Linked DNA regions of Homo sapiens: all the other regions are linked to region 6. The links are contacts of gene promoters, found by promoter capture Hi-C in blood cells and fetal thymus (Javierre and others, 2016). All regions are on one chromosome and are shown on one strand. Each heading gives the region's core, a stretch centred on a gene start or on the middle of the fragment in contact. The rest is flanking DNA. Distances are from core to core; before and after follow the strand shown.

Region 1 (3,147 bases), core at 644-3,143, 740 kb after region 6:
GAATCATCTGGGGAGCTGGGGAGATAGCCCAGGCCCCAACCTAGATCAGTGGTTTGCCCACTTTAGCACTCATCTGAGGCCCTCAGACAGCTTGTTAGAACTGGCTGATAGGCTCCACCTGCAGAGTATCTGGTTCAGCAGGTCTGTGGTGAGCTCTGAGGATTTTAAAGACTAACAAGTTCCCAGGTGAGGCTGCTGATCTGGGGATTTTACTTTAATAAACACTTCCCTACACTAATTACGTCAAAATTTCTGGGTCCAAGATCCAGACATCAGCACTTTGTAAAGCTCCGTAGGTGATTCCAATGTGTAGCCAAATTTGAGAAGTGCGGAGAGAGAGCAACTCAGATACCAGAACTAGTAGCTATGACAGACCTTTCCCATTTCTAATCTTCTCAGGAGGATGCATCCTAAATGATTTGATCATTAAGTGACTAGGTATCTGCTTCTGTGGAATGTGCAATTTAACTCGAAGGACACTACAAACTCACCACCCCAAAAATATTCCTTCCTATGCTTCTTTCATCCTCTCCCCTTTCCTTGACTAGTTACCTAAGCTTCATGGGTCACCTATGCCTTAATCCCTGTGTCTTAAAGACATTGCAAAGGTCAGCCTGAGCTCCCTGATGGATGCTGGTAGGAGTGAGTTCAGAACCCAGCTGTATGTTCCCACCTCCCCTCCCTGTGCTCTAAAGACACTTCTGGATGAGAGAAGAGAATAGCAGGGTAAAATACCACCAGTCACAAGCTTGTTCTTATGGTTTTCAGTAGCCCCAATCACCCTCAGAGAACCAGAATCTCTGGTCATGGGGAAACTTTGCATTAAGCAGGGAATAAATTCTCACCCTCTGGAGTTAGTGGGATGATACGTGGTAAGATGAACTCAGTAGATGTTAACCTGATATTTAATCATGAGTTACAGCGAGTTAATATTAGTTTATCTGGTATATGACCAAGCTCATTATACACATGTTCTTATTCAATTCTCACAGCAACCTTATAAGACAGACATTAGGTTTCTATTTTCTAGAAGGGGGCACTAAGTTTCAGTGAGATGAAATAGTTAGCCAAAGGTCATAAAGCTGGGCTTCCTACTCACATCCGACCTGCTATACCATTGAGTGTTAGTGAATCCTGTTCAAAGCACAAGATAGCGGGGAATTGAGCAGGGAGCTATGGCATGGCGGGTACTGAAGCTAGAGCTATTTTTGTTAGAAAAACTGTTAACCAGGTTCAGGAAGCAAGGCCAGGAATGAAAAGGAGGGCACTGCTCAGAAGACCATGCTTCTGACTTCATACTTTGGCTTCAGGCCACCTTCCTCCACTGCAATAGTACCTGTGCAATGAAAAATCGAATACAACGAAATTTGTAAACATATTCTCACTAGCTAAAGATGTTGCTAACATGATGTAGCAGTAATGTATGTATATACACGTGGATGGGATTGTAAAATCTAGAAACATGTGCAAATGCTGGTTTGTGGCTTGTTCTTTTGAAAATTCTGTTTCTATTTCAACCTAAAAATTTTTTCATGTTGGCAAATATTTTTCTAAGGTATGATTTTTAGTGAGTGTATTTTATTATATTATATGCATGTGTTATATTTAACCAATTTCCTATTATAGGAGTTTAGTTTTTATCCATTTGTCCTTTTTATAAAACAAAGTTATGACAAAGATTATTTACACAAATATCAAATTCTACATTCGTACTTTTTATGTAAAATTCCTCTAAGTTGAATTTGTGGGTGTTATGTATGCATATTTTTAAGGTTTTTTGATACCTGTTATTAAATTGCTCTGTAGAAAGTTTGTTGTTGTTGTTAAAGCAGTTTCCCACCTGTGTTGTTAGAGGGTGCCTATTGTTGCCAACCTTGAAAACACTGGATATTCACACTTTTAAATATCAATTGTGTAGGTAAAAATGGTGCTTCATTAGAATTTTTTAAATCAGCATCACATTCTTTGAGATAATTAAAAAACAAATTTAACCACATAGGCTTTCTCTATTAGTCATAGGTTTATCAACCCCATTGTAATGACGAATCTTTGTTAAATATAATTTAGACACGGTAACCACTGAGCCACACTTTCCCTTTATGCTAACTTCTATCTTACCTCCTTGATTAACTCTGGACTTTCTGACTTAGAACTTGTAGAGTGTCTGTGTGTGTGTGTGTGTGTGTGTGTGTGTGTATGTGTGTGTGTGTCTTTGCAGCGGTGGGGTGTCACTTCCCCAAACCCTTCATGTTTTGGAATTGAAGAAAAGAATATTTTCTGCTTAGGAAAAGCAGCATTTCTGTTTGGGTCCTCATTCCTCTACAACCTCCCACCCCCTTGTTAGCCACCTAATTTGCCAATTAACCCAGGCATTCCTGATTCTGGGGGTAAAAGGCGAAACAGAGAGCCATGCAGACAATATATAATACCCCCATGAGGGCATCAGAATTTGACAGCCTTCAATAGGTTAATTTTTCAAAGTGGTAAGCTGATATTTCTGTATAAAATGCACATCTGCAGGGTAAACGGTATTAAGTGTTGGTGAATTATGGTCCCAGCCTAGGGGTCACTTGAGCCTCAGTGCTACAAGTACCTTAATGCTTTTTTGAATGAAGGCTCCACTAATTGTTTCCATATGATTCTCCCCTTGTCCCTCCTCCCAGCCTCCCTCACTGTCCCCACCCCTTCCCCACTTGCGCTTTGGCACACACAGGAATAATGAGCTATGAAATTGTACCATATTGATTGGGGACTGATCTTACAATAGAAACTGCCATTTTCCCCTGGATTTGCTTTGACTCTTGAAGTTCAGACACCTTTGGGGTCAAGTCTCAGAAGCCCTAAGCCTTCCCCCTCTGCTCCCTACTCCCTCATTCTTTTAAACCACTGGGAGCGAGCACATAGACTATGAAGAAGCAGGCAGACCATTAATTAGCTTGACTGTTATGCTGTCTGGTGGAAGGGGGATCTGAGGGCCTTTTAAAGGGTGTGTTGGCATGTTGATGGGAAGGAAGGAGGGGAGAAGAGTTACAAGCTTTCCCAAAATATGCCCCTGGAAGGATCCCCTGTGTGAGGCAAGGCAAGCCAGTCCAGAAATGAGCCTTCTGAGGTTTGTCTGCTTCCCACCCAAAGACCCAGAGTAGAACT
Region 2 (2,853 bases), core at 62-2,561, 760 kb after region 6:
GCCCATGTCCTCCCAGCCCTTCCACTGGAAGTTGGATCCCAGCCTCACAATCATTCCTGGGAGGGGGAGGTGCAGCTCAAGCCAAATTAAGCCAGTGCTAGGAGTGACAAGTAAATGAGTGCAAAGCTGCTCCAGCTCTGTCTGCCCTTTCAGAAAGTAATCAAGTCAAATTATCTATGAGAAGAAGTGAAGTTGAGGGGGCCTGCAAATGAAAACCAGACTCAGGCAGCGGCTGACTTGAGAAAGCCCAGGAGCTCTATTAAAGACAGAGAGAGGGAGAGAGAGAGAGAGAAGAGAGAGAGACATTTTTTTCACTACCCCCAGACTGTTTACTTTTAAATATTTTGCTTTCTCCCTTGCTCATGTCTACCCCTTTGTTTATTTTTATTTGTTTCCTTTTCTGGATCTTCTAAAACTAGGCTGAGGACTCCAAGGGCAGGCAGAAGAGCCCATATCTGTGTGGGAACGGGGAAAGAATAAGGGAGCCTAGAGTGGGGCTCTGGCACAACTGTGCCTGGGTTCTGGGGTGCCTTTCCAGTGGGAATGACAGGTGGTGGTCAGAACTGGCTTGGGTCTAAATCTTCTGAGTGCAGCTTTTGGTCCAAACTGCAGGTCATTGGTGAGCCCTGTAAAATGCATTTGGATCCTTTAGGCCACTGATTCTTCTCAGGCAATTTTACTCTCGAGGGGACATGTGGCTATCTCTTGAGACATTTTTGGTTTTTGGTTGTCACATCATTAAAAAGTGAGATTTGATACTGACATCTATTGAGTAGAGACCAGGCATGCCCCTAAACATCATCCTATAATGTACAGGACAGCTTCCCATGAAATAGAATTATCTGGTTCAAAATGCCCCTAGGGCCCAGAATGAGAAACCTGCTTGAATAAGTATTAAATGACAAATGGTCTGGAAATGAAGAAATGAGGGCTGGAGCACCTCCTCCAGCTGCCCCTAATCCTAACGCCTTCAAATGAGGGCATCCCCTGTGCCCTCATTTGAAAATGGAGGCTGAAGTTGCACAAGAACTGGCCTCTCCAGTGATGATTTCTCCCCCTTGGAAATAGAGCAGTAGCTGTACAGTCACCTGGGCCCTCTCACAGGACTACACCTCCTGTTCTTCCATCTACCCCCGAGAACCATCACATTCTCTTTCCGACAGAGCCATCTCCAAGGAGCACTCGCCTTGACAAGACTACAGGCCCACATCACATCACTACTTCATCCTCCTCTTTCCAAACTTAAATGTGTGCCCAGGTGAAATCAGGAAGGGGGGGCTTTCAAGGGGAAAAGCAAGTATTTATAGTCTTTATTGGACTGTGTGGATCAAAAGGGAGAAACCCAATTACTTTGCCATAAGGCCGCGAACCACTTGGCAAATGAGTCTCTCAAGCCAAAACATTGCTAAGAGCCTGGGGATGGTCAACAGTTGTTCCTTTGGAGCAATATTGGATGAGGGAGTTGAGCAGTGGGAAGGTAGGAGGTAGCATGGTGACAGTGTCCCAGTAATGCCCTCTGGTGTCTGCGTCACTTTATCTCCTGACATTCACAGGCCCTTTCCTGGGCCCCACCTTTGAGGGGTGATCAGCCCCTCTGAAAGGTTTTCTCTGTGTTTGGCATGATTTTCAGGGTCAATTGGCTTCAGACTCTGTGTGCTCTTGCGAAGAGCTACCCACCATTTCTATTTCTAATAGAACAAATACGGTTTAGTTGGGCTAATTGTTTCTAAGCTCCAGAATGATGAATAGAGGAAACTATTTAACTCTGTCTCTCTGGAGCCCACTGAGGGTTTGTTATGATTCAGAAGTGAACTTGGGAAAATAAATGATTGTGTGAGCCCAGTTCCTAACAGATCCATGGGCATTTTTGTCAACATCAAGCAAGTTCCGTGATCAAGTGGTCACAGAGCTCTCCCTAAGAGAAGCAATGGTCAATTATCTGTACTGGATCTGGTGGCTCCGGAAAAGGGACCTCTAAGCCTCCTGTCCTCAGACTAACCTGGAAGGCACAGTGTCTTATGCCAGACTTTATCAGACAACAACAGGAGCAAGAAAACACAGCTTCAATTTATAAAAAGATAATAAAAGATAATATTTAGATACAAATTCTTATCATCTGTCTTCTGCTTTTTTCCACTTCAGTTCTCTCTGTTTCTTTCTCTCTCTCTCTGTCTCTCACTACAAAAGCCCCAGTTCAAGGGGATTTTACTTTGCTTTGGCAAAAATACCGTTTTACATTTCCAATAGGTTTAAATGCCTGTAAAGAGGCTCAGAGGGTGGCTTGATCACTGACAGCCTCAGACTAAATGATTTTTTGGACGCAGTGAATGCAACCCTATCAGAAGCATGTGGAATTTTATTTTGCTTAAAATTCACACCACTTTAAATTAAAGGAAGAAGCATTAGATCAAAGGGATGCAAAATTTTGTTCAGCCTCAAGAAACCATGGGCAAATTGTTCACCTCACTTGGTTTCAGTTTTTAAAGTACGGAGGATACACTAGATAATCTTGTATGCCCTTCGGACACTGACATTTTGTGGATTTTTGAGCCAGAATTCATCCTGCTCATATACTCTGTCAGCCTTGCTTTTCTGGTGAGAGTGGGGTTCTCAACAAGTCAGTAAGGTAGAGACCCGAGACTGGATTTGTACAACTTCCATTGGTCTTCACTCACCATAACAACAACAACAAAATGAAAACAAATAAAAGCCTCAAACACATAAGCCATCTGGAATTTTAGCTCTTATTTTGTTTTGTTTTGTTTTCCTATTTTAGTCAAGGTGGAAGGGGGCAGCTATAATGAGGTGATTCAAAAGAAGCTCTGCAAATTTCGATAGAACATCAAGAAATCA
Region 3 (3,219 bases), core at 538-3,037, 660 kb after region 6:
GAAATCTAGTTCTTTGATTTCATAAATCTTGACATTCTAGTGGTCGTAAGGAACTTAATGACATGTTTAGGCCTTAGAGTCAGAACAATCTAAATTCAAATCTCTACCACGCATGTGATATTCACCTTCATTTGTAAAATGAGAATAATGAAGTACTACCAACCTCTAGTGTGATTTTAAGAATTAAGTAAGGGAGTTTTTGAAATGCTCTGCAAAATGCCTTGTTATTGGAGTCAACGGTGTTATCATACTTGCCATTCTCCCCATAGCCAAACTTCAAACTATGGCAAGCATTACTCAACTCCAAAAGCTGTATTCATACCAGGTTGTACTCACACTAGATTTGACTAACTTCAGTGATAGCATCTTACTACCTCCTGAGATTGCCAAGTAATTTTTCAAAATTGTAATTGCTAGAGAATTCTTTCTTAATTTGAGGCTAATCTTCTAACGTCCATATATGGATTTTCATTAGAGACCTTGGAGCTAAAGAATGCAAGTCAGTGACAGCTGTTCTAGTATCTGAGAGAATTTGTGTTGATGGCCTCCTTTCTTCCTTCTCCTTGTTCTCTCACTTCTTCCAAATATGATGTGCTTGGGTGCCCTTACCATGGTAGCTGTTCTGCTGATAAATATGCTACTTCTTGTTTGTTGTTGTTGTTTTTTGAGACAGATTCTTGCTATTGTCGCCCAGGCCTGGAGTGCAGTGGCACGATCTCAGGTCACTGCAACCTCCGCCCCCTGGGTTTGGCCTCCCAAGTAGCTGGGATTACAGGCACCCGCCACCACACCCAGCTAATTTTTGTATTTCTAGTAGAGATGGGGTTTCACCATGTTGGCCAGGCTGGTCTCGAACTCCTGACCTCAGGTGATCCAGCTGCCTTGGCCTCCCAAATGGCTGGGATTACAAGCATGAGCCACCACACCCATCTCTATGCTATTTCTTTAAGATCCTTTTTAAATTCTCTAGGTTTGGAAACCCTGTAGCCCTCACTAAGCTCCTGAATTTAGGTATTTTCCCTTAATAAAAGAAAAAAAGTTAATAAATACTCACTTATCCATTACCAAAATGGAACAACTGTTAATATTTTTCCAGTTTTCTTTACACTTTTTTGAAGGCAAAGACGTAATAGGTAAAATTGAGACCCGTGTGATGTCCTTCCTAATTTGCATTCCCTTCCCTTCCAGAGCTAGCGATTAAGAAGTATTTGATGTGCATCCAGTTCTATATATGTACCCTTTAACTATAACATATGCACATATACAAAAATATATATAGTTTATACATATTTGCAAAGCTATATCATTCATTTGCATTATTTAAATACAGTACATGTAAAGTTTTCTAACTTGCTTTTTCATTCAATATTATATTTTCAAAGCAGATTCATGACAATACATACGTAGGTTATTCTTTTTAACCGCAGTATATTTTATTATGTGAACATATCACAATTTATCCATGTATCTAACTATGTAACTTTATTCACTACCACTTGACGTTTGCATTATCTCCCCTTTTTGCTACAACATTGTTGTATGGGACATCCTTGTATATAGTTATCTTTACTCTGTAAGAGTTCATAGATTTTCTCTAGGCCAAACACACACACAGGGAAGCACTCTCACCTTGGATGGCTGGGCTACAGAGTATAAACGTTTTGGGGTGATGCCACTGCTCTTTGTGATGATTCTATTCGCATACTCTTGCCAGTATTAAATGAGAGTTCCGATTTGCTCTCATTCTTGGCTAAACATTGATATTTTTGCCTGTCTGGTGGATTTTAAAGTGTGTCTTACTTCTTAAAAATGTTCCTGATCATTTTTATAGGTGAGCATGTTTTCACTTGCATTTAACATATGCAGTTTTCCATTTCAGTTTGTCATTTTCCATGAATGACACATGAAGATACTTTGCCCATTTTTCTATTACATTCTTTGATATTTTTGTGTTGAATATATTTATTTTCGTATTCTGAGTGTAGACTTATATGTGCTGAACATGTTTCCAGTCAGTGGCCTTTAATTTTGTTTTATATACCATTATTTATGCATAAATTTTAAGTCTAAATTGGTCGGGTTTATCAGTTTTTCTTTACGATTTTGTCTTTTTGTGTCTGCTTTGATAAATCTTTCCCTACTCTGAAATCTTAAATATGTGCACCTATATTTTCTCCTAATAGATTTAAAGATTTTTTAACATTTATATTTTATTTTATTAATAATATGAAATAAAAAATCATTTATGCATACTATATATTACATATAATATATGCAAAATACATATTATGTATAGGATAGACAGCTCTCCCAGTGCCACTTACTAAATACTTCATTCTTTTACTGTGCTAATTATATCTTCATCCATGTCCAATTTAGACTTTGTTCCCTCTATCAAGTTTTTATTTTAATGACTGTATTTTTCACTTTATGATTTGGGATTGGTTGGTTTTATCATCCAGCTGTGTTCAGTATCTACGTCTCTTGTTCCATAACACCATTTTTATTTCATGAATTTTCACCTCCAGTTTTTAAGGATCTTGAAGATTTTAATGTCAGTATTTTCAATACTGTCAGGAGTGAATTTTTGTCTGAAATGTTTTATTTTGTAGGCAATCTCTTCTGAGTCTTTTTCTTCGTGTACTTTGTAATTTCCATTTGCAAGCTCTTCTTGTGTAAGGAGATGTTTTTCCTCTGCCTGTCTGTACTTTTACTTCCCTGCTTTCCCCTGGGGCCCCTTTCCTATCCTCAGCAGGGCAGAACCATTCTTTCCATCATTGCCCATTCTGCCCTGTGACTGGGATGGCAGGAGCCAGGCCATGGGCCAGCAGACCAGCACTTGAGTGACACAGCTTTGTGTAAACTGTGGGCTCAGACTCCTCTCTTTACCACTGCGTCCTGTGCCAATGAACTTTGTTTTTGTCCTATACGGTGTGTGGGTTGTTTTGAACACCATGGTCCCTAAGAGTCAAATTTATTGCTTATGTATTTTAGTTATTTTCTGGCTGACGATGAGGTTTCTTTCATTTTGTAAAACTAGTGTGGTTTTTCTTTTCACTTGAAATATGATTTTGCAACATTACATATTCAGAGGATATGCACTGACCGGAAATTGGGTTCGGTGTGTTTTTCCCTTTTTTGACCACTGCCAAAAAACTGTCTTTCAAGAAGTAGAAACTACTCTGACTAATCCATCACAGTGAATGAAAGGATGAGTAG
Region 4 (3,003 bases), core at 301-2,800, 790 kb after region 6:
ACTGCAGTGGGAAAGCTCAGTTGTGTTAAGTCTGCTTCAAAGGGAGCTTGACCTCACCAGTGAATCTAGAAATGATCTATCGTTAGAAATAGGGAGTCGCTACATTCACTAAGTACAATTTGCCTATCCCTCACACACATGAAGACTGTCCTCTCTATTCCCATTTTGCTCTAGTTTCTATCTTTGCTGTTTACTTCAAGGATCAAAGCCTACGGCTGGGATTTTGACAAAGTGCCCCTCTTATGGAGTGTTTTCTTTGCATATGGAGTGGTCTCTAACAGCTTTTTTTTTTTTTTTTTTTAGCCGTGCTTCAGGACTTGGTCCCTTCTCTCTGTCACTCTCTCCACTTATGCACAAGATACCATCCACTCTTTCCTCCCGAAAAAATTTCATCCCAAGTTAAAAGTATACTTTTTCCGTTCCCTTGGATAATTCCACCAGCACACAGGGTAATAGTTTCCATCTTAAACACAAAAAGATCCCCTCTTAATCCCTGTACAGCTTCACAACCTCTCACTTCCACCTCATTTCTCTTCCCACTTCACACCAAACAAACTTCAAATGATTTGTCCATAGTCATTGTCATCACCTTGAAATGCTTTCCCTTCCAACCCATCTGAATCAAGATTTTTTCCAACCACTGCATTGAAACCATTTTTGTCAAAGTCACGAAAGACATTCATCTCACTAAATCCAGTCAACCATTCTCTCTTCATCTTACTCAATTTTCATACAGCATTTGACATGAGACTACCCCATCCTCCAAGCACTTTCTTCATTTGACTTTAGAACAACCCACTCCCCGGTTTTTTCTCTTACCTGGTTGCTTATTTCTTCCAGTTCTTCTTTGCTGAATCCCCTTCTCTCTCTGACTTCTAAATGCTGGCATCCCCTGAGATCAGTCCTTACCCTGCTGTTCTTTAGCTACATTTTTGCTTTCACCCAGCAACCTTATTTTAAATATTAATTATCTATGTGGTGATGTCTCCCAGAAATATAGCTTTATCCCTAAACTCTTATAAATTCAAACTTGAAAATTTACTTGCCTACTTGACAGTTTTACTTGGCTGTCAAGTACATTAAACTCATGTAACAAAAACAAAACTTACAAAACTTTTATTTTTTTCTTTCTAAACTTGCTTCTTTCTCTATTGTTTCTAAATGAATAAGTATTATCATCATTCACCCAATGATTCAGGCCAAAAGCTTTCATTCTCTAAATCTAATCCTTCAGCAAGTTCTGTCAGTTCTGTCTTCAAAATGTATTCTGAATCCAGGACCTTCTCTGCACCTGCACAGCTGTATCTCTAGCCCAGCCTGCTGCAGCCTCTCACCTGGTCTCTGACCAGGCTACACCTATCTCACTCAGTCCTATCTGGTCTACCTGACACTGCTTTTGACTTCCCACAGACCCTTTTTCACACAGCAGACATAATTATCCTTTATAAATAAATATGATATCAAGTTTCCTGCATAACATTCTCCAATGACTTTTCTTTGTATCTTAAATACAAACTCCTGACTGAGGGCCTAGAAGATACTATGTGACCTGCCCCTCACCTATACGTCCAATCACTCTCTCTGTTTATTATGTTCTAGCTGTATTCGCTTGCTTGCTTCTTCTTGCGTGTCCCAAACCTATTCCCATTCCACAGCCTTTACACTTGCTGTTCCTTGCCTGGTATACTCAACCCAAATTGCCCGGTGACTAGATTCTCATCCTTCAGAATTCTCTCCAGATTCTTTCTTCCAACTTATTTAACTCTAGTTCCTCATGCTATGATTTTCTGTATTACCTTGCTTCGTACTGTAATTCATCTCTATCACCATCTGAAATTATATATAGTCAAACTATTTTTAATGGACTGTCATCTTCTTTAGAATATAAGCTTCAAGAGCATTATGCAACATGCAGAATTAAAATGATTTCTTCTCACAGGACTCCTGATAACTCTAAAGTGGTCATTTAAATCTTTAAGATGTGAGTCCCAAAGCCCTCTTGCTCTGGGGAGAACAGTTTCCTTCACCTTAGTGCTATTCAGATAGAAATTGGCCACGATATTAACCTCTGACTGTTATTTTTGAATAGCACAATGGAGTGAGATGAGCTGGGTCTAAACTCTCCCCAGGACAAATATTTTTCAACCCAATGAAAGATTTATATTTTTATTTATTTTGATGTGCAGTGAAATATCTTTCTCCCTTACCTTACTTCTTGAAAAAGAATGAAGCACTGTTGCTTTGAAAAGTTGACAGACTATTCTAATCAGTCATCCTCAGGTTTGGATTTGAAGGTAAATTGGTCAAGAGTAAAGGTCCAGAACATGTTTCCTGAAGCTACTATAAGTCAAACTCTAATCCTAACCACAGATAAATAAATGGTTTAAACCAAATAGCTCAGAGGTTAAATTGTACCCTGAAAAATATGCTTTGAGCTTCCAGGAGACTCAAAAAATATGAACCTTTTTCCAAGTTACTAAATCAAACACTTGGCCCACTGATTTTTAAAAAAGTAAAACCAGCATAAACTAAACTATATTACCCTTGTAATGGGACTGTGATAGGAAAAATTATAAGTATCTTCAAGAAAACTCTAGAACTTTAGATGCTACAGATAGTGCTGGTAAGCAAATAATACCTATTTCACAAGGCAAAAATCTTTCAAATTACATTCTATTAAAATTCATAATTTTGATTGCTCTGCTAAACTTTGCAGAGTTGGCTCTGGCTTAAATATTAAGAATTAGGAAAGGAGGTAACAGGAGAAGAAGCTAAAAGCCAAAGACATCCCGTTCTCATAATGTGTTGCTGGAAATGGCATTGCATTTAGTTTTACCTTGGGTTATATGGGGAAGTCCTTGTTATTACTGATCTCCACTTCATTTCAAATAGGGCAATTTTCAAATGGACTCTCTAAGTGTAGGTTTTCTGAAGTGATTCTTTTGTAACACTTTTATTTCTGGAGGCACTCTGCAAAACCTACAAAAAATTTTGAAAATTATT
Region 5 (3,000 bases), core at 305-2,804, 720 kb after region 6:
TATAGCATCTACTGAGTCTTATATTAAAATTCTTCACCTATACTAAGTCATGTACTAGATCTAAGAGTCTTTAAGATAGGGATCTTACTGATTTGTTTTGGTCTTCAAGCTTAGTATATAATACATAATAGGACTTTCATAAGTGTGTGATGAATGAATAAATGAACAATTCTAAAGGATAATGACAATAACACTGGACTGTCATTGGTAAACTTGAGTTCTAGACCCACCTGTCACTTCCACCTTGAGGTCTCAGACAATTTAACCTTATTAGTCCCAGATTGCTAGCATGCACAATGAGTACTTCAGATTTGGTAACTGCCGAAGTCTTTTCTGTTGTCCGATCCGTGAAGTTGCGGCTCTTGAGTAAAGCTCATCAAGGCAGACTTTCTGAGAAATTCCCAATGCAACAGGTTTCAAGTAATTAACCAGGAAAGACTCTTCCAGAAGTGGTAGCTCAGCACATACTGAGAGTAAATACCATGTTAGTGATGAAGAGATTGGAATTTCTGCAAAGAATTGATTCTGATCTTGAGCCTCTTACTAGTTTGGAGAGATCAAAATATTGGACACATTGCCTATTGTTATTTACTTGAGATTAGTTAATGGAAATCAGAGAATTTAGGGGCACATAATGCTGCCACATGAATAACTGACTTGATTCTTTTATAAACCATTCAGATTGAATTCCATGAAAAGCAAATTCCTACCTACTTTTCCAAGGATTGAATCCAGAGTGTTTTCTTAGACGGTGTAACCGGGGTGCACGGGGCAGTGAGCTAAGGTGCAATCTTCCGTCTGTGTTGTGCTTTACACTTGTTCTCACTATGCTTCAGTTTAAAAGGGACCTGAAATCCAGGAAACAGAAGACTGTGGTCCCCTGAGTATCCAGCTTTCCACTCAGTATCTCTTCGTATCTAATTGGCATGCCAAAGTTTACATGGCATCAACAAAACCCTTGGTTGCCCCACATATCCAGAATTTACCTCCACAAGTATTTGCTATTTAAGTAAATGCCATCATTATCCACTCAATTTCTTAGAACAAAAATTTACAAGTCATTCTGGATTCCTTGATTTCCCTCAATTCCCATTATCCAATCATCAGTCTGCTATTCCATTTCCATTAAAATGTATTCTGAAACCAACTACTTTTTACTCTCTCTACCGCAACCACCCTTTCCCCAGATACTGTGATCTTTTAGCTAATGTTATCACCTCTGCAGTAGCTTTTCTGCCTCCACATTTGCTCCCTTACATAGGATCTGTTCTACACGCAGCAGCCAGAGAAATCATTCTAAACTACAAATCAGATCCTCCTATGCCCATTTAAAAGTCTCCAGTGGCTTCTAAGTATGTTTTGAACCTGACTCTTCCCATGGCCTGGTCATTCTAACATTATCTGGCTTTGCCAATGCACCCAATTCATCTCTCTCTCTTCCTTCTTGTTTCTCTGGTTTACTTAGTTTTATCCATGGTCTTTTGTGATGTCCCCCCATTTTTTTTTCAGAAATGTCATCTTGCTCTGTCACCCGGAACACAGTGACGTTTCTTAAAAAAAAAAAGACATCACAAAAGGATGGAGTGCAGTGCTATGGTCATAACTCACTGCATCCTCAAGCTCCTGGGCTCACACAATCCTCCTGCCTCAGCCTCTGGTGTAGCTGGGACACAGGTGCATGCTACTCACCTGTCCTGATGTCTTCAACATACCAAAGAAATTTCTCATCTCATTACATTTGTACTTATGGTTCCTTCTGTGTCAAATGCTCCTCTTACATAGCTGGCTTCTCATCATTTAGGTTTCACCTTCATGAGGCTCCTCCTCATGAAGAGCTTCTCTGATGCTCCTCCTCATGAAGAGCTGCTCTGATGCTCTCTAAAACAACTGGTCCTGTTACAGTCAATGTCTGTCAAAATCACCCCGTTTCATCTTCTTCATAACACTTATCAGTACCTTAATGATCTTATTTCTTGGTTTATATATTTATATATTGTCTGGCTCTTTCCACTATAATGCAATCTCTTTGAAGATGGAGATTCTGCCTTTCTTATCAAATGTTGTGTTCCACACTTTTAGAACATGTTTATCATGTCTCAAGTCATATAATAATATACATTACTAAATATTTGTTAATTAACTGACTAACCAAGTTTTCCTATTGTTATATATGAGCAATAAAGAAATAGAAATAAAACAGCTAATTAATGAGGGTTAGATAGTCTCCAAAACAATATAGAACTATTTGGTTTAGAAAGGAAACTTGTAATAGATGAATAGAGACTAAATGTACACAAGACCCTTTCACATTGTCTCCTTTTTCTGTTTGACAAGGCTTTATAGAGATATTTACAAGAGTGAGAACATCCTAGATAGATGGATAGATTGATAGACAGACCTAGTAATTACCTAGCAGTAGCAGCCAGTATTAATATCAGTATCAGTGTCAGTATTTACTGATCCTGCTAATATCCTAGAGTGTCAGTATCCTTTTCTGATAATCAGTATCAAATTATGGATATTAGCTATTAATAATAATTATTATCGGTATCAGTGTCAACTATCAGTATCAATAATCAGTAATTACCCAACATCAGTATCAATATCAGCCAGGGTCCCAAAAGGAAATGGACAGCACATTAAAATGAAGTAATTTGCAGACAATTTAATAAAGAGATTATTTACAAGGATACGGGGGGTGGGTGGTTAGAAACAATAGGAGGGACTCTGATGCTAGAGATAGGAGGGATGATTCTCACTGCTACGCTGGAGAGTGACGAAGTATTTACCTGACAAAACACTTACACTTCTCCAGAGAGGAGTGTAGACAGAGGGCCTCCTGACAGCAGCTGCAGCCTTCCGCAGAAGATCACACTAACCCAGTAGGACCTGCCAGAAAGGGAATTAGGGAAATAATTGTCTCAACTTCTCTCTTCCTCCACTTGCTCCGTCTCCCAGAGGCTGACTGTCCCACAAGCCGAGCTCCACCAGAAGCTTGAG
Region 6 (3,170 bases), core at 586-3,085:
CAGCCAAGCTGACCAAACTCTTTATGCCAGAGTCCAACCATGGGCCTCTAACTCCCACATCATTTGCTCTGCCCTGTTCGTTCCTCAGATTCCAGGAAGCCTGAGCGCCTCATTCAGCCAGATGATGCAATTTACACCTGGCTTTGAGGAAAAGCAGGGATGTGGAAAGACAAGAGCAGCTTTCAGAATTAGCTTTTGTTAGTGGAAAGACCCTGGATTTAAAGCCAGAGGACAAGAGTTTTGGAGATAGCAGTGCTGCTGCCACTTAGTGCCTGGAATTCTGTTACCCTTACTCTCATCTATAAAACAGAAGAAATAAGCTCTGCCCCACAGGACTGGTGTCAAGATGAACTCATGTAAACGTATATAGCTCGGCACCTTGGTTTCATAAATATTAGCCTTTTCCTCACATGGAAAAGTGCTTTGAGAACCAGAAAGCCCGATAAACCATATGGCTTTTGATGAAAACGAGGCACATTTTGGAGTCAGATATAGGAGAGAATCTCCCTTTATGAGCTGTGCACCTGAGGCAAATTGCACAGCCTCTCTGGGCTTCAATTTTTCACCTGTAGAATGAGGATGATAATCTCAGCTTATTAAAAGGATTGAAACAGAGTAAAATACTTGGCGTGTTCCTGTTGATCTTCTTCTGGTGTTTGAAAAGGCTCCTGGAACAGGTTTTGGGCTGGTGTTGCTCACCCTGATGTTCAGGGTAGGCCCTAGAACTTTGGGGGCCGGACCTGAGGCCCTCCACAGCCCCTGGGGTTGGAGAGCCCTGTTTGAGGGAAGGCACAGATAAAACCAGGGGGCCAACAGCTCTGCAGGGAGAAGCACTGACTTGAAGAGAAGGGGAGCAATGACAAGGCCGGCCTTCTCTGTTCCCTATCCTCTGTCCTCACAGGCTTGACCCCTGGCCTTTCTGAACCATTTGAAAGCTCTTTAAAAGGAGATAGGGAGGTACGCAGGAAGTGACTTGGGCAGCGAGGGGGGCAGAAATCACAAGGCCGTGTTTCCAGTTTGGCCACACTTAAAAGAGAAAGCAAGATTAGGCTGGGGATCTAAGGCTGAGGGGGGCACCGCCCCCCATCCTGGCCCTCCCTGCTCCCATTTGAAGGAAGAGTCCTACCAGGTGAAAAATGTCCTCCACACCCCACCCACTCCTGGCCACTGTTGCCTCTCAAACCACTGCTGGGAGATCTGGGGCACCCCCAGGTAGCCCTGGTCTAGTGCCAGAAGTGAAGGTGTTTATGGCTGGGCTCCCAACGCACAGGGCAGCCTGCAGCCACGGAGATCTCCAATTTCCTAAACTTGGACCTGCCCTAAGCTTTTCCTTATCCCCCCTGGCTCCCAGTCTAGCAGGTTCCCTGTGAAAGCCTGCTGCCCAGGTGATGGACACCTGAGGGTGTCATCCTGCCCTCCAGAACCCGCGAGCTGGGGGAGAAATGGAGGAGGAAAAGAAGACAACTTACTTGTTGAGATCGGAGCTTCCGAGTCCCACTGATGCTAACTTCTGGGGTGTCCCTTAGCGGCGGTGCAGGGGGGCTCAGGGCTTTTGAGGGGACTCCCCAGCCCCTGCCATGACCCCACGGAGGAGCTGTAGCTGGAACCTCTCCCTGTTGTGGGGTCCTGTGGGCAGAGGTACCTAAGCCATCCTGTCCCTTCACTCGCGGCCCCTTGGGTCACTCCCTTTCTCTAGCGAGAGCAGCTGGAACAATCTCTCTCTCTCTCTCTCTCTCTCTCTCTCTCTCTGTGTGTGTGTGTGTGTGTGTGTGTGTGTGTGTGTGTGTGTGTGTCCCCTCCTCCCTCTCCTCTCTCCCTCCGTCCCTGGTACAAATGAATCTCTGGGTAGTAACGCGACTGGAAGGGCCACCGGCGTTGGCGGCGGGGGGCGGGCTGGGGTGGGGCGGGGGCTCCATGTGATCCGGGACGCCGTCAGCTCGGCAGGACTGGGAGGGAAGAGGAAGGCGGAGAGAGAGCCCGGCAGGCATCCAGCCCTCCGCTCGCGTCCCCGCGGCCCCCTGCGCCCTCCCCCGGCTCCCCCTGCCCCCGGCTGCACCCCTGCTGCGGGGTGCCAGGGACGGAGACCCGCGCGCGCGCGTGTGAGCGTCCCATGCCTGTGTGTGAGCGCCGCGTGTCACGCGTGTCCGTGTGTGAGCGCCGCGTATTTAGTGGGTGCGGTGGAGCAGACAGAAAGAAGGGAGAAACTATTAGGGCAGAAATCTTGGCTCGGAGCCTCGGCGGGGCTGCTCAGTCGCTCCGCGGTGCGCTAAGCGGACGGTTGGCAGCATTTCGCCGTTTCCCGAGAGGGATGGAGCAGATGGGGGGATTCCTTTGGGAAGGCGGGGGAGCCACAGTCTGGGCGCTGCATCCCCCGCCCGACGGCTCTGATTCCCGCCGTGGAGTGAGGGTCCGGGGGCCTGATCCGCCAGCTGCAGGGGGAGTAGGTCCAGGGACAGGACCCAGGCTAGCTGTCCCCGGGCTCGCTGCTCACCCCGGACGATCTCTCCCCGGCGTGCGGCGGCGGCTGGGCGGCGATGGCTGGAAACGCGCCCTGCACGGACAGGAGGCGGGAGCAGCCCGGAGGGAACGGAGCTCAACCTTGCCCAGGCGTGGGCAGAGCCGGCGTCCTCCGCGCCACCTCCCGGCTCTCCCTTTTGGATTCCTACCTGCCTTGAGGACAGATGATGACCAGAGTGTGTTCTTTAATTCGTGGAAGCCGTAGGAAAGGCAGCTGCCAGGGCAGGCTGAAAGGGAGGGCTGCTGTCTGGGGAGGGCCGGCAGGTGCCTCTGAGGACCGGTCTGTTCGGGGTGGCCCTTCTCACCCGGTGGTGTTCCTTCTGGCCCCTCTCCGTTACCCAGCCTTTTGGGGTCAACACCCCCCCTGCCAGCCCCCTCTCTCAGGGCAGACACAGCTGGTCAAACGTGGGGTGCCCTAGCACCTAGCACAAGTGCTAGGTGAATGATGTCTACGACCAGAAAACTGGTTTATTACGTTGCAATGAGAAAAATGCTTGTCACTAATACTGGAGGGCACCAAGTCCATCCTCTCCTGTAAGGACAGTGACAGGGAAACTTAGTCTCTAACAGTGGCCTGGGGGTCCTCTTGCCTCGGAGACCAGCGTACACACAGCCCGTTGCCCAGGCACCCTCCCCTGGGACAGAGCACAGAG
Region 7 (2,978 bases), core at 7-2,506, 700 kb after region 6:
TCACAGATAACTGATCTTTCAACGTGACATAATCAATTATCACATTTGAACTGAGAAACAGAGTCCACATTTTTTAAACATATTGTAAAAGTATAAAGGCAAAATAAATTTACTCTGTGCTAAATTAGGCAACAGCATTGGCTGCCTGATAGGGGAGATGTGGGAGAACCAGCATCAGCTATCTGGGATGGAGTCAAGTGGAGAGTGGGGTCCAGGGCCAGGAACTGAAATGTGGGGAAAGTGGGACATAAGGGAGTCCTATTGACACCCCTCACTCTGACTTCAAGCCAAGAGGTGAGCATTGGCTCACCAAGAGCCAAGAGACTGAATCAGGAGATGGGTGTTTCACTTTGCCCAGGCTTCAATTGTTGGATGGCGTTGAGGTGAGCAAAGATTCAAGTGGGTCTTTACGGTGCCTTCACATCTTTAGGTGGCCACACTCTCCCTGCTGCTCTGTGGTCTAGATACTGGTTCTCCTGAGTGCCTGAAGCCCTCTCATCCAGGACTGGTTGTGAGCACTGCATACGCCCTTTGATGAGGGTCGGTGGTGAGAAGGAGGGGTTCCAAGGCTGTGTTCTCACCTCTTCTGTGCTAGTGAGAAAACCACAGCTCGCCTGTTCTCAGAAGCTCACATGGACAAACCCTGTACTGGAAGGGACTTTAATATGGTCATGATCCCTTAATATTGTAAGACAGAGAAAATCTTTCAGGGTGTGGTTTCCTGACATTCCCCATAACGAAGAGTCTACAAGCTGTGTGTGTGTGTGTGTGTGTGTGTGTGTGTGTGCACGCGTGCACACGCACGTGCATGCACGTGCGTGAGAGAATTGTAGGAAACAAACTTTAAACAAAAACATTTCTTGAGAAACATCTTGTGTAGACCTAAACGTGCGTTATGATCTTTTGCTCTAGGCCCCATGTAGAGCTGAAACATTGTCCTGAAACTTGACCCCCCTTGGCCTACTCCCCTCATTGAGAAGTGCCCTTTCTCCCCTCATTGAGAAGTGCCCTTTTCAAAAGGGAAGTAAAAGCTGTGAGTAGCACCTATTTTGTCAGAGAGGCACAGGATCAAGTTCTACTTTGGCCTGCATGCACACTTCATGCATACATCATAATCTGTTTCATTGATATCCCCAGCCAGTCATACAACACCTTCTGATCTCTAGGTTTGGAGCCATATAAATAAATAAGAAAATAACTTTTTTTTAAATAAAAAGATTTCTAGACTAAAAAGGTACTTACTGGTTTCTTTCTTTCTTGTCTCTTTAATTTTGTATATGTTCCAGATATTTTTCTTGTTGTTTGGAATAGAAGTTTTGGTGAATTTACTTTAACATTTTGTTATAGACTTTTGGCCTTGTGATACGAAGACAAGTTACTTCTTCTTGCCCACCAGCTAGACAATTAGCTAGTCAATCAACCAACAGATGCTTAATAAGATCCTACTATATGCAAAAGCATTCTGGTAGCTACAGTAAAGTTTAAAGCAGAGAAAAGTCAGTTCTGCCTCTATTTTATATATATCTATATAATGTGTATATATACACATATCCATATTTTATATTAACATATGAATATGTTAATATATATGCATGTTTTATATGCGTATACATGTATATGTATATTTGTATATGCACAAATATACATATACATGTATATGTATATTTATATATACATATGCATGTGTACATTGTATATATACATATACATTTGTATATATGTATTTATATGTATATATACACATATGCATACATGTATATATGTATATATGTATATGTACATATATGCATACTATATGTGTATATATACACATATGCATACTATATATGTATACATAATTACATATAAAAACATGCATAATTACATGCGTATATGTATATATAATTTTATATCACATATAATTAATAACTACTATATACGAGGCACTTTGCAGTGTCTCAATTGGAGATACATTTGTCATTTGGAAACATGGGCAGGGACAATGGAAATTGTAGAAGTCAAGCAAAGTGTCTCAGCCAAATATGTTTTCCATAATTCCTTGCAAGTCTGTTCCCAGGCCTTCGCTTTCTCTGTGTGCCAAAGTGACCCTGCTGGGAAAATGGACCATGGAGACAACTGGAATGACTTTCACAGTGGGACTCGGGTTTTACCCTTGTCCTTAATAGCATATAAAAGCCTAGGCTGAGTTCAAAGGCAGGGAACATCAATCTTCGATAACACACATTTTTTAGGGTAGTGTGAGGAGTCAGGAATGTGTGACATGATGTGCGGGGCTGGGATGTGAGGTGGCTGCTGCTGGAGACGTGCCTCACGTTACATAAGAAGCACTTGCTTTCTCCAGAGCTGGACGTTGAACCAGCCTTATGAATGCTGAATGAAGCTGCAGTCCACACTTCTGAGGGAAGGGTGAGGTTTTAGAACACTTCAGGACATCCTGGCTGGTGGAATTCAGGTATTTCTGAAAGCCTCACATCACAGAGCACAGTCAACAGGGCAGCTGAGTTTTGAAGCCAGGCATTCCAAGTTAGATTTCTTTCATCCACATTCCTAGAGACACAGCCAATTCTCCCTCTGTCGGGAAGAGCTGCCTCCTTGTCCTCTTCCTGCCATCCTGCCTGACTTGTCTCCATGCCCTTGACACCTCAGAGGTTACAGGGTTCCTTCTCTAGAATACGTGTTTGTTTGTTTTTCCCTGGCTCAAAGCTTAGGTAGAGGCCCATCCTGTGAACTCAGTGACCCGCCCCTTTACTGTGTAACAGCATTTTTACATGATCATTTTTGCTTGTCTGCCTCAGCCCCTGAATTTATTCTTTGGGTTGTGTCTCTAGTGCCTAACATGGTGCCTGGCAATAGCAGATGTGAAAAAATGCTCATTCACTCTCAGATGAATCAATGCCTGCAGTCTCCCAGAGCATCAGTCTATGCTAACATATGTGGCCTTCTGGGAGCCTTTGCCTTCAGTTCCTATGGAAACTGGG

The links. Contacts are between HindIII fragments. The CHiCAGO score rates a contact against its expected background, and 5 or more counts as called.
Region 1: a contact is called between a fragment that was not itself captured here and the fragment with the promoter of KCNJ5 in region 6, in 10 of 17 cell types (naive B cells, total B cells, total CD4 T cells and 7 more). The highest score is 14.3, in naive B cells.
Region 2: a fragment that was not itself captured here is called in contact with the fragment with the promoter of KCNJ5 in region 6 in 1 of 17 cell types (activated CD4 T cells); the score reaches 5.4 in activated CD4 T cells.
Region 3: a fragment that was not itself captured here is called in contact with the fragment with the promoter of KCNJ5 in region 6 in 1 of 17 cell types (neutrophils); the score reaches 6.3 in neutrophils.
Region 4: a fragment that was not itself captured here is called in contact with the fragment with the promoter of KCNJ5 in region 6 in 9 of 17 cell types (activated CD4 T cells, non-activated CD4 T cells, naive CD4 T cells and 6 more); the score reaches 9.8 in activated CD4 T cells.
Region 5: a fragment that was not itself captured here is called in contact with the fragment with the promoter of KCNJ5 in region 6 in 14 of 17 cell types (naive B cells, total B cells, naive CD8 T cells and 11 more); the score reaches 26.2 in naive B cells.
Region 7: a contact is called between a fragment that was not itself captured here and the fragment with the promoter of KCNJ5 in region 6, in 3 of 17 cell types (naive B cells, total B cells and total CD4 T cells). The highest score is 11.4, in naive B cells.

Annotation. Positions count from the first base shown.
Region 1 is chr11:128,148,521-128,151,667 of GRCh38, reverse strand. The region is part of intron 2 of LINC02725 (long intergenic non-protein coding RNA 2725); the gene reads right to left. Among named protein-coding and RNA genes, the nearest start is that of LINC02725, 54 kb to the right of the region's middle. The HindIII fragment of the contact is 2,286 bases long and covers 751-3,036 here.
Region 2 is chr11:128,130,894-128,133,746 of GRCh38, reverse strand. The region is part of intron 2 of LINC02725 (long intergenic non-protein coding RNA 2725); the gene reads right to left. Among named protein-coding and RNA genes, the nearest start is that of LINC02725, 37 kb to the right of the region's middle. The HindIII fragment of the contact is 5,085 bases long and covers 1-2,853 here.
Region 3 is chr11:128,229,105-128,232,323 of GRCh38, reverse strand. All of the region lies in intron 3 of LINC02098 (long intergenic non-protein coding RNA 2098), which reads right to left. Among named protein-coding and RNA genes, the nearest start is that of LINC02098, 22 kb to the right of the region's middle. The HindIII fragment of the contact is 8,968 bases long and covers 1-3,219 here.
Region 4 is chr11:128,101,218-128,104,220 of GRCh38, reverse strand. LINC02725 (long intergenic non-protein coding RNA 2725) reads right to left here. Exons shown (of 6, transcript NR_183639.1): 2 at 2,837-2,979. Among named protein-coding and RNA genes, the nearest start is that of LINC02725, 7.0 kb to the right of the region's middle. The HindIII fragment of the contact is 683 bases long and covers 1,209-1,891 here.
Region 5 is chr11:128,167,061-128,170,060 of GRCh38, reverse strand. It overlaps LINC02725 (long intergenic non-protein coding RNA 2725), which reads right to left. Exons shown (of 6, transcript NR_183639.1): 3 at 2,806-2,889; 4 at 715-848. Among named protein-coding and RNA genes, the nearest start is that of LINC02098, 40 kb to the left of the region's middle. The HindIII fragment of the contact is 2,885 bases long and covers 112-2,996 here.
Region 6 is chr11:128,890,021-128,893,190 of GRCh38, reverse strand. It overlaps KCNJ5 (potassium inwardly rectifying channel subfamily J member 5), which reads right to left and starts at 1,835. Exons shown (of 3, transcript NM_000890.5): 1 at 1,470-1,835. The HindIII fragment of the contact is 6,484 bases long and covers 1,327-3,170 here.
Region 7 is chr11:128,188,058-128,191,035 of GRCh38, reverse strand. No RefSeq gene overlaps it. Among named protein-coding and RNA genes, the nearest start is that of LINC02098, 19 kb to the left of the region's middle. The HindIII fragment of the contact is 2,899 bases long and covers 1-2,705 here.